4 separate regions of the Homo sapiens genome follow, and all the other regions are linked to region 4. Evidence: promoter capture Hi-C in 16 types of primary human blood cells and fetal thymus (Javierre and others, 2016). All regions are on one chromosome and are shown on one strand. The core of a region is centred on a gene start or on the middle of the fragment in contact, and the rest is flanking DNA. Distances in the headings are between cores, read along the strand shown.

Region 1 (3,163 bases), core at 270-2,769, 2.8 Mb before region 4:
AGTAATGTTAGGTCTAAAATATAAGGTATCTGAGGTTTTCATCATTTGTGACATTTATGTGTGTATGAAACTAGAAGGTAACTATAATCATGCAAAGTAAAGTGGATACCTTTAAACCTTTAATGGATAACTGAGCTGGGATATCTTTGCTAGAAAGAAATTCAGATACCCTGTGTATTTTTTTCTCTTGCTGTCTAGTGTGTCTGGTTACTGCTACATAGTTAAATTTGATCAACTTGCTGGTAGTAACTTAACCTGCTCTACTTTGGAATCATAAGCTAATTGCAGTTATGTGAATGCTTTCATGAAAGAACAATCATCATTTATAACTGCTTTATTGCTGTGGATTGATAAGTGCTTTAGTTTTGGTGAATGGTAACATGTTTCATCTGGAAAGGAGGAGACACAGATCTTACAATCTTTACCCTGAAAGCAGCATAGATAATAAGCATTGACTCCAAAGATTTTTAGGCTCTTAAGAAGTTTGAAGATTAGACAAAAAAATAGCAACCCTTTTTTGGTTGCTGAAATAGTTCAGGGGCATGGGATCTGAGACACTGCTGCTCTCTCCTGTAATCCATAGTGGCCACTGACTTCCTGATGTTCATTTTGAGCTCTGTGATTACAGTAGGTTGTTCATATATTCAAAGCAAAAGGACAAAGATAAGACACAGAGGCCTAACTAGCCTGAAAAATGCCTCTGGGCTTTGTGCATGAAATTGGTAGCCCTTGACACTTGGGCCTGTATTCTGGAAAAGAGACCATTGTTTCAGGTTTACAACACTGAGGATCATTCACTGCCTTCATCTCTCTACCACAGCAGAAATGCACTTGGGGGAGCGAAGAAAGGAGTGATTTAGGGAAGGAGAAGGCCCAGTAGTGAAACCAAGTTAAGAATCAAGAGTCACTTTTGTAAACTAATATCATTTAATTCCTTTCCAAACTTTTTTTTTTTTTAACCTCCCCTGGACCTTTGGAGCTTCTTAGCTAGAAGCTTACACATATTAGCATTTCCTGATCCAAAATTTTATTCTATAATTGGATTTGACAGCCTCTGGTTCTGAGGAGTCATGGAAAGAAAATTCAAAACACTTGTCTTCCGACTTCCTTAAACTAAACATCAAATTAGGAAGAAAAGGAATGCATGGAAAAACTGAGAACAGTTACAGAATAACTAAATACTATTATATCATTCCTCTATCCTGCAGTAATGCTTTAAAGTATTGTCCTTGACAGCATAAAATGTTATTAATATCTAGCAATCATTTTAATATTCAGTTTCACTAGTACAAGATGTAAATTCAGCAAGGTGTATATTATGTTGTAGTAAGTTTTTTTTGTGAATCATTTGTGTTCTTTGTTTGCAAGCAATGGAAAGAAACTATCTCAAGCAAAATGGGGATTTGTTTAAAGGAAGAGCAGGATGGTGGCCTGAGATGAAGCCTGCTCCTGGAATTTCAGCAGCTAGAACTGGCAACCTTTTTCTTTAGGATGCTTCCCGTAGGTGACAGGCATCTCAGACTGCTATTGCTTTCCTTCTCAGTACTCAAATTCAGATTCCCAAGGGAGAGGAGCTGACTGGCTCAGGTTGGAACATGTTTCCCTGCCTGGATCAGTTTGCTGTGGCTGGGGGGATGATTCCTATGATTTGCAAAGTAGGGGAAAAGGAGGGGGACTGAGCATACAAAAGCTATAACTAACCTGGAGTTAATTTTGTATAGGAAAATAAGGTATGAGGAAGCATTTGTTCTGGATTGTTCTCATTTATAAATTGTTTTCCAAAACTCTAATGTGCTATTGACCTGTAGTGCTTTTCTGGAACAAAAAATAGAGTTAAATTGGTTTTTATTATTTTAACCTTAATTAAAATAATGAAAATTAGCTATGTATTGATGGTAAAAACTAAAAGCATACATCAGAAACTTTGCTTTTCAGCTTTGAGAACATAGAATTTTAGTCCTGCTTTTTGTTTCTATCATGATGTTCCAGTTTATTTCATAGCTCTGTGATGAGATACATTTTTTCCTGGTAATTAAGAAGCTTATTTAATATTTTCTTTGTATTTCATCTTTTTTTTTTTTTTTTTTTTTTGAGATGGAGTCTCGCTCTGTCGCCCAGGCTGGAGTGCAGTGGCGGGATCTCGGCTCACTGCAAGCTCCGCCTCCCGGGTTCACGCCATTCTCCTGCCTCAGCCTCCCAAGTAGCTGGGACTACAGGCGCCCGCCACTACGCCCGGCTAATTTTTTGTATTTTTAGTAGAGACGGGGTTTCACCGTTTTAGCCGGGATGGTCTCGATCTCCTGACCTCGTGATCCGCCCGCCTCGGCCTCCCAAAGTGCTGGGATTACAGGCGTGAGCCACCGCGCCCGGCCTGTATTTCATCTTAATGTAAGAATAACAGTCAAAGAAAATTGGTAAAATATATACTATATTAGGGGATGTTTTGTGACTGCAATTGAATTTTCTTTCATATATTGTTCACTTTAATAAAATTAACCTGCATTTATTCTTGGTATTTAATATAAGAAGAACATCATATAAGGCATTATAAGCTTATGCTTTTCCTCAAAGAAACCTGCCACGTAGCTACTTGTGGACTCATGCTGTTTTTTGTTTCTTGGGGTGTTGGTGGGGGGTAGGGTATATTTCAGAAGTAAAATGGTTTAAAAATTGGCCTCAACCTGAAAGCCTGCCATGCAGTGTTGTGGCACTGATGGAAGTGTGAATGAGAAGGCGGTGTCAGCACGTGGCTGGAGAGCCGCTCCGCCACTCTGCCACTCCGCCTCCCTGCCACGTGGCTTGTGAGGAGCCACTAAACCTTTCCGTGCCTAGGCCTCCCCATCTGTGGAATAGTCAGTACCACCTACTTCATAGGGGTGTTGTGCGGACTGAAAAAAACAATGTCAAATGTTTTTAATATTCAGATGCAAGGATGATGTCTGAAATCTGTACTGTATAAAGGCTACACAAAAATGGACAGACATTTGGTTGACTGTGCCAGATACCAAAAATGTACGTTCAGAAAAGCATTTTACCAACTCAGAAATATGACTTATTTCTAGGAAAAACAAAGTTCAAAAAATTATCTCTGAGATTTATTACTAAATGTTTTCCCTGTTGGATATAATTGATCCAGAAACAACGTTGAGATTCCACAGCCCTT
Region 2 (3,417 bases), core at 312-2,811, 2.4 Mb before region 4:
TTCTTCTAGAACACCTACTGAAGGACTGACCTGAGGCTGTTTTGCAGTTAACTTTTTTTTAAAAAAATAAGTAGAAGGAGTACACTCTAAAATATAATAATAAAAGTATAGTGTAGTAAAAACATAAATCAATGACATCGTTGTTTAGTATCATTATCAAGTATTATTTATTGTACATAAATGCATGTACTGTACTTTTATACAACTGATAGCACAGGTAGGTTTGTTTATACCGACATCACTGGAAAAATGTGTAATGCATTGTGCTATGATGGTACAATGGCTGTGTCACTAAGTGATAGGAAGTTTTTAGCTCATAATCCTATGGGACCATCATATTTGCAGTTCATTGGTGACCAAAACATCATTAGGTGGCACATGACTGTATTTCTATGCATGCTGATACACAAAATGTAAAGTATCCTTATTTTTCTTTTGCCATCAGGTAAAGTTACATTTATGCCCAAAACACTGGAGAATAGTTAATTCACTGACTACAGAGGAATTCTGATGGGCTAAGACTAGGGTGAAAATGGCAAGCTCTATATGTTACATATGTTTAAGTGTAAACAAAGAAGTGTATACATGAACACATGTGTGTGTCTAAAATTGCATTTTGTATACGCTAATTTTTCCCTCACAGTAGGAAGCTTGCAGTTATTAACTGTAGCAAAGTCTTCTGGTCCCCTACCCCAATAGCTGTTCTCCCCTTCTTCTTTAGTGACAAAACTCTCAAGTACATGACTGCCCCCAAGTAAAGCTTTCCCAGCTTTCTTTGCAGCTAGATAGCTCCCTATGACAAATTCTGGACAATGAAATGCACGTGGAAGTGTTTTGTGCAGTTTACAGGAAGCTTCCTTAAAAGACCATGAATATGCCTTTTGACCCTTTCTTCTTGGTTGCTTTCTATTGTCTGGAATATGGACGTGATGGCTGGAGCTTGGGCTGACATGATGGACCACAAGGATGAGAGCCACATTATAAGGAGGCTGGAGAGGAGAGCTGGAGGAAGTTTCTTAATTTAATGACTTCCTAAAATTACCATACCAGCCCAGGACTGCATCCTTCCCAACTTCGTTTCCATAATAAATAAATCAAGGTTGGTGGAGATATACATTGGTGCAGCCATTATGGAAAACTGTATGGCAGGGTGGGGGGGTTCCTAAAAAAATTAAAATAACACTAATATATGATCCAGCACTCCTATTCCTGGGTTACATCTAAAGGAAATGAAGTCAGTATGTTGAAGAGATATCTGCACTCTCATATTCATTGCAGCACTATTCACAATAGTCCGGGTATGGAATCAATCTAAGTGTCCATCGACAGGTGAATAGATAAGGAAAACATGGTATATGTACAACGGAATACTAGTCAGCGTTTAAAAAGGAGATCCTGTCATTTGTGACATGGATGAACTGAAAGGCTGTCATGCTAAGTGAAATAAGGCAGACACAGAAAGACAGATGCTGCGTGATCTCACTTATATGTGGACTCTAAAAAGTTGAACTCATAGAAGCAGAGAATGGAATGGCAGTTACCAGGGGTGAGGAGAATGAGGAGATGCTGATCAAAGGGCAGAAAGGTTTATTTCTGAGGATAGACTAGCCCAATGTGTTCTGGTTGGCGGGGAGAAGAATGTGGGACCCTCTTCCATGCAATTATTCAGAGACCAATCTTTTTCCATCTCGGCCACCGGAGACTCCAATCATCTTCCATATATGGCCTCCCAAGTCCCCACAGAATAGAAATAGATATCACATAGGATTATACAAGGAGATTTAACATGGTCCATGCCTAGGGTGGCATTTGACGCTTCTACCAACAAGCTATTGGCCAGAACTCTGTTGTATGGCCCAAAATTAACTGCAAGAGAGTCTGAGAAATTTAGTCTAGCTGTATTCCCAGAAAGAACAAACAAGAGCATAGCCTTCTCTTACCTAGTAAATAAACAGAAAATATAGTTTCCAATATCCCTGTTTTAAATTTATTTTCTAAAGGCCCACTTAACAAGGTCCACATGCTCAAGGATACAACTCACTATGTCACAAAATCGTCTTCTTATGTCATCTTAATATTGAAGCATCTAAGACTCAGACATTTCTAATAATGGAAGATGAGCCTCCAGAAATGGTGTGGCTTTGATCTCAAGCCCTGGCCAGCTACTGTTCTTCTTATTCCTACTGTTGCCCTTCTTCCTTGTTTGTGTGCTTTCCCATGATGAGGCATAATTTTTGAACATCTATAGAGGACGTTAAGGAAAGCTTCCATAGGGCTTTATATCCCAGCACTTTGGGAGGCTGAGGCGGCTGGATCATGAGGTCAGGAGATTGAGTCCATCCTGGCTAACATGGTGAAACCCCGTCTCTACTAAAAATACAAAAAATTAGCCGGGCGTGGTGGCGGGCGCCTGTAGTTCCAGCTACTCGGGAGGCTGAGGCAGGAGAATGGCGTGAACCCGGGAGGCGGAGCTTGCAGTCAGCCGTGATTGCGCCACTGCACTCCAGCCTGGGTGACAGAGTGAGACTCCGTCTCAAAAAAAAAAAAAAAAAAAAAAAAAAAAAGAGGCAGGGCATGGTGGCTCACGCTCATAATTTCTCTATTCAGAGTTCAGCATCATTGTCAAGTATTATTTGGGAGGCTGAGGCAGGAGGATCACTTGAGGCTAAGAGTTTGAGACCAGCCTGGGCAACATAGCAAGACCCCATCTCTACAAAAAATTTTTTTAAAAAATTAATTAGCCGGGCATAGTGGTGCACACTTGAGGTCCCAGCTACTTGGGAGGCTGATACAGGAGCATCACTTGAGCCTGGGAGATACAGGCTGCAGTGAGTGCTGATTGCACCACTGCACTACAGTCTGGGAGACAGAGCAAGACCCTGTCTCAAAAAAAAATTCACTTAACTTGTAGTCTGGGAGCATATTGCTAGAGATAACAATGGATCATTGAGGCAGATAGAGCTTTTTCATTTCCTTTTATACTACTGTTGTGTATTTTATAGGCTATTGTTATAAAAAGCTACCTGATACTTGGGCAAAATAAGATCATTTAGGGTATTTTTTTTAACAGGGTGAGACACTTCAAAAACAGACAGTCAGACAGACAGATATATAGATAGAATTCTATTTTCCTCCAAAAAATCAATCACGATGGTTTTATTGAACCAACGTTTCCCACAAATTCTGGACAATTACCAAAGACAATCCATTTCAGGAAACATGATTGAGATAAAAATGATAGATGCAAAAGGAATAATGTTTAAAATTCCATTTCGGCTTAATAATGAGTTTGTGGCCTGCATCATAAGGCAAGTTATTATCCATCACATTTTATCATGAGACTCTTTCTTGCATTTTTATAAAAATTTTACAGCCTCTATTTTCAGAACTGTCCAGAAGATGTTGTTACTGTTCACT
Region 3 (3,487 bases), core at 975-3,474, 2.8 Mb before region 4:
CACCTGTAGTCCCAGCTTCTCGGGAGGCTGAGGCAGAAGAATTGCTTGAACCTGGGAGGCAGAGGTTGCAGTGAGCCAAGATTGCGCACTGCACTCCAGCCTGGGTGACAGAGCGAGATTTTGTCTCAAAGAAAAAAGAAAAAAAAAAAACAATAAAATGGTCCAATACATGGCAAAACTGTCCAGGAAAGGAAGATAAAGTGCCCAAATAAACTCTATTAGAGACATAAAATAGCTAAAAATAGATATTGAAATGGTAAGCAAAGATTATAAACAAATGAATAGCAATAAATTTGAAAACACAATTGTAAAAGAAAATATATATTACATAGATTCCTCTTGCCTGGTATGGAATATTATAAAGTTTATACAGAATGTGTTCTTTTCTGTATGGCTACTTTCACAGAGTACAGTGAGATTCATCCATATTGTTTTGTGTTGACATGTAGACACAATGCACTTATTTTCATTTGCCATATAGTATCCTACTATGTGAATACACAGAAATGCATTTATCCCTCTATACTACTGATTGACATGCTACTGGGTTGTTTCTAGTTTGGAGTTCTTAGGAATAATGCTGTCGTAACCGTTCCTACATAGGTCTTCTGGTGCTGGATGTATACCTAGGAGTCAAACTAGTGTGTCACAGGATACGTATATATTCAACACTATTGGATAATAGCAAACAGGTTTTCAAAGTGGTTATACCAACCTGCATTCCTTCTAGTGGTGTATTAGAGTTCCTACTGCTTTACATTCTTACCACCCCTTGTTATCTTCAGTCTTCTTAATTTTAGGCATTCTGATTGGTTTGTAATTACATCTCCCTGTAATTTTAATTCACACTTCACTAATTTTTCATAAGTTTGCTGGTCATTTGTACATCCTTTTTTGTGAAATATCCCCTTAGGTCTTTTCCTCCTTTCTTTTTTATACTTTAGAAAAATTTAAACAATACTGAAATGATGTGCTTCTTAAAGATTTGGTAGAATTCCCACACAAAACCATCTGGGCCTGGTTCAAATTATAAATATTTATTTATTTATAAAGGGAGCACAACACTGATAGAAAACACAACAGAAATTGTTGAGTTATTTAGTAAAAATTAACTAAAGACTCCTGATTCTAATTTACGAGTGATACCACACAGTGCTAGGAATTGACTGTTGTGTATTGTATTCTCAGCCATGATCATTCATTCCTGCATAACTCTAGGCTATCCCTAGATTGCAGGAGCTGGAAACCAGGAACCCTCAAGGGTTCTGAACGACTGAAAATCAGATGTGGACTGGAACTTGTAAAAAAGAGGAAGCCATTCTTCTTCCTCAGGCAGTGGTACCAAAAGTCCAGGCTTCAAAGATAGGTGGTTTTGGGGAAGGCCTCTGTCCCATCTTTCCATTGAGCACCATCCCTCATTAGGTACTGGGAGAGACTTGTGACATGGGCACCTATTTCCTCCAGGTCCTGATCTCTGGTGGCAACAGCAACTTTTTGACTATTGATAAACCTAAAAATTAGTGGGGGTTTCTAAGACCCTTGCTTTCCTAGCCCTCCCAACAGTTTGGTGAGCACCTAATTTCCTGTAGCAAATAAATTTCTGCTTGAAATATCTAGAGTGGTTACTGCTGTCCTCTGACCCCTGACTGCTACACGCTCCCTTAAAGACAGGGATAATATGACAAGTGTTTAACAAGTTGTACAGCACAGACACTGACAGTTCCAAGCGAATACCAGGCAGCATGCTACCCAAGTGTGTACTGGCTGGATTCTGCCTGCCTTAGAGGGCATCTGGAAATATGGAAGAGTATCTCAGGTCACACAATCCCTGAGGATTGTCACTGCTACTTAGTGTTTGGGAACCAGGGAAGCAAGCTGTTCTGCAAAGCAAAGGATAGTTCCATACAATGAAAATTTTTCCTGCTCAAAATTTCAGTGGCATCCCCACTGAGATAACTGCTGTGGAGCAAACTCATGTATGAATATTGATAAAAGAATCTTATATAAAATATTAACAATAGTCCCTGAGAGCATATTGAACTACTACATTGGTACCGTGTGGGGTTTTCCCAAAATCCAAGGATGATACAATAAAAGTGAATATGTTAATATGATTCACTATGATAACAAGTCTGAGAAAACTCAAAAACTTTTTTCTGTAGACTGTGAAAAGGCATTTCACAATTCACTATAAGTATCACTTATAGCGACTATTTTTTACCATATTCAATAAATTAGGAACCAATGAATACTTAGTTAATTTAATGAAATGTATCTCTCTCTGCCCAAAAGGGAGCATCTGTTTAATTGGGAGATGTTGGAAGAAATCTACTAAAGTTAGGAAGAAGATAATGAGATCAACTCTGGAGGGCTACATCATTCTTCATGAATTGGAAGATTCAATATCATAATGATACCAGTTACTATGATAACAATGTCAGTTCTCCCCAAGTGCAATCCCAATCAAAATCTCAGCAGATTTTTGCTTGTGAAAACTAACAGCCTTATTCTAAAATTTATATAAAAACGCAAATAGCCAAAGTAGTCTTGTGGAAGAACAAACTAGATGTTCACAGGACCAGATCCGAAGACTCATTAGAAAGCTATAGCAGTTAAGAGAGTGTAGAATTGGCACCAGGACAAATAAGAAAGTTCACAAACAACTCATCTACATACGGAACAAAGGTGACATGAGAAAGGTAATAGGGGAACAGTGAGTTGTTTAATAGATTCTGGTTCATTATGTGAAAAAAGTAATGTGAATGCCTATTGTACTATATACAAGGCAGACTCTAGATGGATTTATGACCTATATTTTAAAGGTAAAAATATAAGAAATATAAACTAAAATTATAAAAACATTTCAGTTCAGGGTAAGCAAATATTTTTATTAAATAAGAGCCCTGGACAGGCGCGGTGGCTCAGGCCTGTAATCCCAGCACTTTGGGAGGCCGAGGCTGGTGGATCACGAGGTCAGGAGTTCAAGACCAGCCTGGCCAATATGGTGAAATCCCATCTCTACTACAAGTACAAAAATTAGCCGGGCATGGTAGTGTGCACCTGTAGTCCCAGCTACTCAGGAGGCTGAGGCAGAAGAATCGCTTGAACCCGGGAGGCAGAGGTTACAGTGAGCCAAGATTGCACCACTGCACTCCAGCCTGGGTGACAGAGTGAGACTCTGTCTCCAAAAAAAAAAAAAAGGAGCCTCCAAAAGTTTAAATCATAAGGCAAAGGAGGGGAGAGATTTGGCTCATCAAAATTCAGCTTTTTTTTTTTTCAGTAAAGTATCCATGAACAAAGTTAACAGAAACTTGAGATAACTGAATCTTTGAAACCAACATTTGATTAATTTTTACAACGCAATGTAGATAGCACTGTGTTAACGAGTAAGAAAAAGGCAGAAAATTAAATGAAAAATAGGCAAAGGGTATGAACAGGTAATAGAAGGAGAAGCCTACATAATATGCGAAGAGATGCTCAAAATCAC
Region 4 (3,357 bases), core at 78-2,577:
CGCACCATTTCACTCCAGCCTGGGCAATAGGAATGAAACTCCGTCTCAGAAAAAAAAAAAAAAAGAAAAGAAAAGAAAAGAATTTGGGTAACTTGGGCAAATGATTTATCTTCAGCTCCCATTTTTTCCACAAATAAAATGAACATAATGACATTGATTAACATGACTATAAATTATTAAATACTATTCAATTAATACCAGCTTGGGTTTGAACACCCAAAGTCAAGATTTTCACTTACAAATTACTATGCAGCCTGGCACACTCAGAGGCTGGCTATACTATCCCTTTAGCAATTATATGGGCTCTGCTCCTTTCATTGCAACAGCAGGGTTTGTTCTGTTAGTCTTTCACTCTGCCATGTAGCTTTATTTTTCACAGCTGTCCTCAATACGCCAAAGCTGTACACTACACCACTCCCCTTGAATCTTGTCTATGCACTGGCATCTCTGCTGCAAATCCTCCTGTAAGACCACTGTCCACCATATTCTCCTTAGCTTGCATCCTCAAGATCATTCCTGCCTAGAGATATGGAGAGTGGCCAAGACAATGGAATCATGGTGAGGCAGGAAGCTGCACTTCTTATGAAAGTCTTTATGGTCTCATGATATCTTTAGGCTAAGAAAAAGCAGTGCTATACATTACTGAGCATCCCAGGTCAACCAGTGAGCCATCAAATGGCAGCGTCTACAGAAGAACACTGGACGTCATTTAATCCAATCCCATAGTTTTACAATTGAAGCAACTTCGGTTCAGAGAAGTAAAAAAAAAAAACAAAAACAAAAACAAAACAAAACAAAAGCTTCCTCATGTCCGCTTTGTTATTTAGGGACAGAGAAAGAACAAGAACTGAGGTCTTCATCCCCTTTCAGCACCCATTCTTTCACATTAAGCTCTGATGCTTCTCTCTGATGGCTTAAAACATTTTCCAGTTCTAACCAACAGACCCAATTGGACTATCGTGTAATCACTGATCTTACCTTCTTTATGGATAAATAAGCCTGCTCTTTCATCTCTTTTCTGGGCTGCTGTTTGTTCAACCAATTTTTCAAACCTGTTCAAAGCCTTTTTGAAATTGCTCATCTGAAGTGCCATGTTGAGACGCTTTTCCTTCCTGATATCCATAGGGACATAGGGGATCTTTTACTTCTGTACAGAAAGAATACTGCAAGTTTACCAATTTGGAAAACTTTCCAGTTGTTACAGTGCCTCCCTGCTGTCTCAGTTTTTGCCCTAGGTCTAATTCCTTTGATCTTAAAATCCCATAGTGCGGGTAGGAGTAAGAGTTGCCACTAGGATGTTAGCAGGGAGGAAAGCTGATTTAGGTCTGATGCATTTCATACAGACAAACATTTCAGTAAAAATCCTGACCTCACAATGTCATCAGTGTCCTTCATAGGGTCCTCATTGCATCATAATATCTCTGTAACATCCTACTTCCTTCATAAGGAGGAGATTGAGATATTTTTTTCCCCACAGACTGTGTGTGTGTGTGCGCGTGCACATGTGTGTGTTGTGTATACTGCTTGAGAGGGAAAAGGAATGAGTAAATAACAAGTAAGAAAACTGGGTAATACTTTCTCCCTCGTGTATCTCTTCTCACCTCAAACCTTTTGCCTTCCTCACAATACCGCGGAAAGTAAAGTTTGGCCAGGCACGGCGGCTCATTCTTGTAATCCCAGCACTTTGGGAGGCCGAGGTGGGTGGACCACCTGAGGTCAGGAGTTCAAGACCAGCCTGGCCAACATGGTGAAACCCCCGTCTCTACTAAAAATACAAAAATTAGCTGGATGTGGTGGCGGGCACCTGTGATCTCAGCTACTCAGGAGGCTGAGGCAAGAGAATCACTTGAACCTGGGAGTCAGAGGTTACAGTGAGTTGAGATCACACCACTGCACTCCAACCTGGGTGACAGAGTGAGACTTCCTCTCAAAAAAAAAAAAAAGTAATATTCACACTTATTCTTGCCACTGTACTGGATATGGAAATTCGAACTTCTAAAGATGAAATGTATTTCAGCACCTGTCATTTCTACCACAAACATTTTTAGAGGTCATAGGGAATACAAATGCTCTTCTTCCTTTGTGCATTGTCCTTCGATTGAAATAATAAAGTGAGCCAAGGATAAGGAAGGAGTGGCTTCTGATTATGAGGACAGCTTTTCAAGGTAAGAGGTCAGATGAATTAGAAGAGGCCTTTCTGCACATCTCCTTCCCAGTCATTGCAATCTCCAATCCGACTTAGTCCAAATGCTATTGACTCCGGTTTTCCAATTTTCAACTTTTTATGGGAAGGAGAAGTTGTTTAATGTTTCTCAACAATTAGTTAACTTCCTATGGCTTAGGTGAGTTAGATAAATTTCCTACCCCTTGGTAGTCCATCTTTTAAAACATTCTTCAAGAACTTGCATTCAGAGATGAAGCAGATGGCATTTCAGAGCACCTCCAATTCCAGTACTGTCTTCTTGGTGTCCACCTCTAACTATCTGTTAGGAGAGCGCAGTAAGATTTTATTTAAAGAAAAATCCCCCAACCCCATTTGTTTCTCCTCCTTTTTCCTTTAAAGCTTTCAAACCACTGTACAGTGATGTCTGGAGAACCACTCTTCCTACAATTCTAATGCATTCACCATTAATTCATCTAGGAAATATTTACTGAATACACACTTCATGCTAGAGGCTGTTTTAGACACTAAGGATACAGCAGTGAATAAAATAGCTTCTCAAGTTTATAGACTAATGCAGAAGACAGACAAACAAATAAATAATGTATCAGTGAGCAATTGTGCTACGAAGAGAGAGGAATTTTGTGTGTATTAGGGTGGGGGTAAAAATCAAAGTAAAAGAGGTAGGGAGATCAGGGAATTCCCCATTAATAGAAAGATTTCTGGGCAGAAACCTGAAAGAAGTGAGGTAGCAAGTCATGTGGATAAATGGTAGAAGGATGTTCTAGGGACAGCAGGCGTAAAGTCCTGAGATTGGTGTGTGCTTCACATATCTGAGAAACGACAGAGGCCAGTGTGACTGAGGTGGTGTGGGATGAGAGAGAGAGGTAGAGAGAGAAGGCAAGAGAGTCAGGGGGTGGCATCCAGATCACGTAGGATCTTATTGGCTGTTTTAGGACTTTGGCTTTTACTCTGAGATGGGATGTTTTTGAGCAGAACAGTGACATGATCTGACGTGCATTTGAAAAGAATCATTCCAGCTGCTTTGCGGAGAATAAACTGAAAGGGAGAGAGGGTAGAAGCCGGGAAGGCAGTTAAGTGGAAATTTCAGTAATGCAAGTAAGAGATGACAGTGGTTGAGATTAGGGCACTAGTGACGGAGGTTGTGCGAAGTGGTCAGATTGTGTGAAGGTAGA

Evidence for each region. The method cuts DNA at HindIII sites, captures the fragments that hold promoters and counts their contacts. A CHiCAGO score of 5 or more calls a contact.
Region 1: a contact is called between a fragment that was not itself captured here and the fragment with the promoter of WDR64 in region 4, in 3 of 17 cell types (monocytes, activated CD4 T cells and fetal thymus). The highest score is 7.0, in monocytes.
Region 2: a fragment that was not itself captured here is called in contact with the fragment with the promoter of WDR64 in region 4 in 1 of 17 cell types (fetal thymus); the score reaches 5.4 in fetal thymus.
Region 3: a fragment that was not itself captured here is called in contact with the fragment with the promoter of WDR64 in region 4 in 2 of 17 cell types (fetal thymus and non-activated CD4 T cells); the score reaches 5.9 in fetal thymus.

Annotation. Positions count from the first base shown.
Region 1 is chr1:244,443,443-244,446,605 of GRCh38, reverse strand. All of the region lies in intron 1 of ADSS2 (adenylosuccinate synthase 2), which reads left to right. Among named protein-coding and RNA genes, the nearest start is that of ADSS2, 6.9 kb to the left of the region's middle. The HindIII fragment of the contact is 1,046 bases long and covers 997-2,042 here.
Region 2 is chr1:244,031,360-244,034,776 of GRCh38, reverse strand. The region is part of intron 8 of LINC02774 (long intergenic non-protein coding RNA 2774); the gene reads right to left. Among named protein-coding and RNA genes, the nearest start is that of ZBTB18, 18 kb to the left of the region's middle. The HindIII fragment of the contact is 1,411 bases long and covers 856-2,266 here.
Region 3 is chr1:244,464,752-244,468,238 of GRCh38, reverse strand. All of the region lies in intron 2 of CATSPERE (catsper channel auxiliary subunit epsilon), which reads right to left. Among named protein-coding and RNA genes, the nearest start is that of CATSPERE, 5.2 kb to the right of the region's middle. The HindIII fragment of the contact is 6,278 bases long and covers 1-3,487 here.
Region 4 is chr1:241,650,251-241,653,607 of GRCh38, reverse strand. WDR64 (WD repeat domain 64) reads right to left here and starts at 1,327. Exons shown (of 28, transcript NM_001367482.1): 1 at 979-1,327. The coding sequence starts at 1,123. The HindIII fragment of the contact is 1,763 bases long and covers 803-2,565 here.